Linked DNA regions of Homo sapiens: region 2 is linked to region 1. Evidence: promoter capture Hi-C in 16 types of primary human blood cells and fetal thymus (Javierre and others, 2016). All regions are on one chromosome and are shown on one strand. Each heading gives the region's core, a stretch centred on a gene start or on the middle of the fragment in contact. The rest is flanking DNA. Distances are from core to core; before and after follow the strand shown.

The links. The method cuts DNA at HindIII sites, captures the fragments that hold promoters and counts their contacts. A CHiCAGO score of 5 or more calls a contact.
Region 2: a fragment that was not itself captured here is called in contact with the fragment with the promoter of FANCL in region 1 in 4 of 17 cell types (monocytes, naive CD8 T cells, total CD4 T cells and 1 more); the score reaches 6.8 in monocytes.

Annotation. Positions count from the first base shown.
Region 1 is chr2:58,239,882-58,242,651 of GRCh38, forward strand. It overlaps FANCL (FA complementation group L), which reads right to left and starts at 1,444. Exons shown (of 14, transcript NM_018062.4): 1 at 1,337-1,444. The coding sequence starts at 1,432. RefSeq lists a silencer at 1,042-1,091 and an enhancer at 1,632-1,791. The HindIII fragment of the contact is 7,787 bases long and covers 1-2,770 here.
Region 2 is chr2:57,978,345-57,981,114 of GRCh38, forward strand. It overlaps a transcript of VRK2 not described here. Among named protein-coding and RNA genes, the nearest start is that of VRK2, 67 kb to the right of the region's middle. RefSeq lists an enhancer at 738-1,345. The HindIII fragment of the contact is 3,252 bases long and covers 1-2,770 here.

The DNA of each region.
Region 1 (2,770 bases), core at 194-2,693:
CTGTAAATTTAAAATATATACAAAATATTTTTAGACACGTAAAATGTTTAAGATTTAAATAAACTGCTAAGGCAGGTACAAATTGGAATTCTAGCTATAGCAATGGTCATAAAAGAAACTTTCATCTAATCTCAATTCTAATGGGTGTACTTGTTTCCTAAAAGGCCTTAGCAGATATAGACATACATAACAGTATTTTGCCTAAAATTAGGTATAACATGCTTCCTGTAAAAAAAAAAAAAAAAAAGTAACTTAAAATTTTTCAACTTTTCTAAATGTTGTCTACAAGAGAATCATATTTTCAGCTAGGTAATTCAAGAAGAATACTTCTAATTGGAGAGGGAAAGGTGGATTAACTTTTTTCCATATGGAATAATGAATTTTTAACCTCTACTTTCTGTGATGGTCATATGGTAATTCCACATATACTCAAAGACTATGCGTGATGGTGGGGAAGTGGGCACAAGGTTGAGTGTAATGGTCAGAAAGGAAAAGTCTACACTCCTAACCTAAGGTATCCTGGTGCAATGTAAAGAGAAAAAAATCCAGGACTGAAATCACACAGCCTGCGTTTAAGGGATTCTGATGTGATCATCAGCAAATAACGTCTCCGGTTTCCCATACCTTGATTTCTTCAACTAGAAAATGGGAATGATGATTCTTTTAAAAATTTCTGCCTCAAAGGGCTGAGGATTAAGTGAACTATTTACCTGGAAAGCGCTTTGTAAACTTCAAAACCCTACACATGTGTTAGTATGTGTAATAAACTCCATATGAGAGGCCACTGGAATCAGCAAAGTTAATTAATTCCATTGCTGTCATGCTTCTCCTAGAAGATATTGTAACTGTGGGTGTACAGGTACATACGACTTGGCAAAGGGCCAAAATAAGGTTTTCTTCCCAAATGTTCTTTCTACAGGAAACACGAAAATAATTAGCCCAGATTCCCGAGTGAACTCATCAACATCCGTGGAGGTGGAGGGTGTTAAAATCGAGTTAAGGCAAAATTTACAAAAAAAAAATTAAAAAACAGTCAATTGCGGGACACTGAACGAAGAAGGAAGCCAAACTCGGGGAAGGGCTAGGGAGAGAGGAGGCGTGGCCCCAGCCCCGCTCCACGCCGCGCGCCTCCTCGCTCCCCATCCAGCGCGGCGACCACCGGGGTGGCGGCGACAGCGGCGCTTCTCAAACCTTTAGTCTCCCAAGAGCCGTTACGCGCCGCCCCTCTCAATCCCCACAAGTCTGGGCCCCTAACCTCCTAGCCCGTCACAGACTTCTCCGCGCAGCTACGCTGCAAGAGGCTCTCTTAGCTAGAAAGCAACCACTGGGCGGGTACCTGAGCCGAGATGAATCCCTCATACACGGTTTTCGACCGGTTCTGGGGCAGAAGCAGGGGGCACTGGCGCAACAGGCTCGCTTCCGTCACCGCCATGGCTCGAAGTCCGGAGAAACACAGAAAAGCTCTAGACCTGCTGGGTCCTGCACATGCGCAGTCCGCTGGCGCTCGGACGCCGCGGAGCGGAAACCCCAGCCTTGGCGGGAAGATCCTGGAGGATTCCGCGGGCGGAAATGAAGGTGAAGCGCAGGCCAGGCCAAGTGGCGCTCTGCGGGAGGCGACATCAGGGCTCCCCAACCGGTAGTGGGAGGGAAGATTGCCCTCAAGTCCACAGGACTGACTGACCAAGATCATTCTAGCCTCAATTGTCCCAGGAGCCCTTTCGATGATTCTGTTTTACTTTATTGAAAGACTGTTACAACTTTGGTGTTGCATTTCCTCCAGAATAAAATGACTTTTACAGCCTGGACGTTGTAGCACTCTGTCTTCTTTGCTGTTGTCCTCTCTCCCTTAACATACAGAATAATGTATTATTTTGTGTATAATTATTGTAATATAATGTATAACACATTGATTATATCATATATATTACAGTTCTGTGGCTTACTAAGTTCAATCAGATATATTTGAGGCACACACATGTATACGTATATGTGTATTGATTAGACTCAAGTCAACACTGGACTCAGTTCTGTGTACGGCACTCACAAATATATAAAGCAAAACATGAGTAAAGATTGCTGATGGACTTGAACTTAATTTTCCTCTGACAGCGCTTGCAATATGTTTTTCTAACTCAGGAATGTTATCCATCCCATCTTATTAAGAGTTGATTAAATAAGAAACCTACTAAAATATTTACCATATGATTATTTGATTTTCCAATTTTCCAATTTTCCAATGCATCACGTTTGAGCCCTACTATTTGAAAAACATCATTGTAATGTGCCAAAGGTTGAGCAAAGATTATTTCGTCCCCTACCCATCTTTATTGACCTCAAGACAGAATTTGACATCCTGAAGATTCTTAAAGTTTGACAAGAATTTGTCACAGCATTCTGGATGCTTACAGAAAAGAATGCTGGAGCAGTGGTTAGATATAAATTACATTAAAGCAGTGGTTCTCAAAACGTGATCCTAGAACCTAGCAACAGCATCACCTGGGAACTATGTAGAAATACAAGTTTTCACCGCTGATGGGGTTCAGGATATGCTACCCCAAAATATGGCCCCTTGACATTTGAGAAAACAACAAAACCTAAGATCACTCTCTGACCTTCTCCCATCCTTCTTCCCTGAGGCGGGTCATTGGATCCTCAATCCAGAGGTGCTCTTCCTATACCCACAGGAAAGAAATATCCTTATCTCTAAAGAAACGGAGACATAGAAAAGAATCTGAACAAAAAGACCTTTGACAACTTACCCCAGTTTATT
Region 2 (2,770 bases), core at 76-2,575, 260 kb before region 1:
GTGTGGGACATAATGCTTTACTTTCGATTTGCCTCATAGCTACATTCTAGATCTCAGCCATGTCCACTTCTAAGCCTTGATAACAGAAGACCTAAAAAGCCAGTCACTTGCTTAATAAACATTTTATGAAATTTAAGTCATTGACATCATAAAATTAAGGCAAGCAGAACAATCTTTATGAAATTTCAAACATGCTGCCAACTTACCATCCCGATCTAAATCATATTGATTGACATATTGGGTGCCACATCACTAGAGACATGGATCATGTGATCCCTCAGGCCAAGTATCTTTTTTTTTTTATATATTGGCTTACTTGATTTGTTTCCTTCCTTCCTTCCTTCTTTCTTTCTTTCTTCCTTTTTCTTTTTCAGCACATGCAGGTTTGTTTCATAGGTATACATGTGTCATGGTGGTTTGCTGCACCTATTGACCTGTCCTCTAAGTTCCCTCCCCTCACCCCCGACCCTACAACAGGCCCTGGTGTATGTTGTTCCCCTCTCCATGTCCATGTGTTCTCAATCTTCAACTCCCAATTATGAGTTAGAACAGGAGGTGTTTGGTTTTCTGTTCCTGTGTTAGTTTGGTGAAGATGATGGCTTCCAGTTTCATCTATGTCCCTGCAAAGGATATGATCTATTGTTTCCTGACTTTTTCTTTTCATAGCTGCATAGTTTTCCATGTGGTATATGTACCATGTTTTCTTTATCCAGTCTATCATTGATGGGCATTTGGGTTGGTTCCATGTCTTTCCTATTGTAAATAGTACTGCAATAAACATACGTGTGCATGTGTTTTTGCAGTAGAATGATTTATATTCCTTTGGGTATATACCCAGTAATGGGATTGCTGGGTCAAATGGTATTTCTGGTTCTAGATCCTTGAGGAATTACCATACTGTCTTCCACAATGGTCGAAGTAATTTACATTCCCACCAACAGTGTAAAAGCATTCCTATTTCTCCATAGCCTGGCCAGCGTCTATTGTTTCCTGACTTTTTACTAATCGCTGTTCTGACTGGCATGCGATGGTATCTCATTGTGGCTTTGATTTGCATGTGAATTAGCTTTTTAATGTGTGCTGCTAGGTTCAATTTGATATTATTTTGTTGAGGATATTGCATCTATGTTCACCAGGGATATTGGCCTGAAATTTTCCTTTTTCATGTGTCTCTGCCAGGTTTGGTATTGGAATGATGTTGGCCTCATAGAATTAGTTAAGGAGGAGTCCCTCCTCCTTGATTTTTTGGAATAATTTAACCCCAGCACTAGCACCCTCTCTTCTTTATATATCTGCTAAAATTCAGTTGTGAATATGTCTGGTCCAGGGATTTCTCTGGTTGGTAAGGTTTTTATTACTAACTCAACTTCAGAACTTGTTATTGGTCTGTTCAGGATTTCAATTTCTTCCTGGTTCAATCTTGGAAGGTTGTGTTTCCAGGAATTTATTCATTTATTTTAGGTTTCCTGGTTTGTGTGCATGGAGGTGTTCATAATAGTCTCTGAGGGTTTTTTGTATTTCTGTAGGATTTGTGGTAATGCTCCCTTTGTCATTTCTGATTATGTTTATTTGGATTCTCTCTCTCTTTTTTTGTTAATCTAGCCAAGAGTCTATAAATCTTATTAATTCTTTCAAAGAACAAATTTTTGGTTTCATTGACTTTTTCCATGAATCTTTGCATCTCAACTTCGTTCAGTTCAGCTTTGATTTTGGTTATTTCTTTTCTGCTACCTTTGGGGTTGGTTTGCTCTTATTTTTCAAGTACCTCTAGATGTGCTGTTAGATCATTAATTTGAGACCTTTCTAACTTCTTGATGTAGGCTTTTAGCACTATAAACTTTTATCTTAACACTGCTTTAGCTGTGTCCTGGAGGTTCTGGTATATTTATCTTTGTTTTCATGAGTTTCAAAGAATTTTTTTTATTTTTGCCCTAATTTCATTCTTTACCCAAAATCATTCAAGAACAGGTTGTTAAATTTCCATGTAATTGTATGGTTTTTGAGAGAACTTCTTGGCATAAATTTTTACTTTTATTGCATTGTGGTCTGAGAGTGTGATTAGTATGATTTTGGTTTTTTTGAATTTGTTGAGAATTGCTTTATAGCAGAGCATGTGGTCAACCTTGGAGTATGTGCTGTGTGCAGATGAAAAAATATATATAAATTCTCTTGTTGGGTGGAGTATTTTGTAGATGTCTCTCAGGGTCATTTGGTCAAATATCAAATTTCGGTACTGAATATCTTTGTAAGTTTTCTGTCCTAATGATTTGTCCAACACTGTCAATTTGTGTTGAAATTTCCACTATTATTGTGTGGTTATGTGTCTCTTCAAGGTCTACAGAAATTTGTTTTATGAATCTGGGTGCTTCAGTGTTGGGTGCATATACATTTAGGATTGTTAAGTCTTCTTGTTTAATTGAACCCTTTATCAATACATAATGCCCTTCTTTGTCCTTTTTGATCATTGTTGGTTTCAAGTCTGTTTTGCCTAAAATAAGAATAGCAACGCTTGCTTTTTTTTTCTTTTCTGTTTGCTTGATAGATCTTTCTCCATCTCTTCACTTTGAGCCTATGGGTGTCATTGCATATGAGACATGACTCTTGAAGACAGTATACAGTTGGGTCTTGCTTCTTTATCCAACTTGCCACTGTGTCTTTTAAGTGAAGCACTTAGCCCACTTACATTCAAAGTTAATATTGACATGTTAGGATTTGATCCTGTCATTGTGTTCTTATTAATAGCTAGTTTTTATGTAGATTTGATTGTATA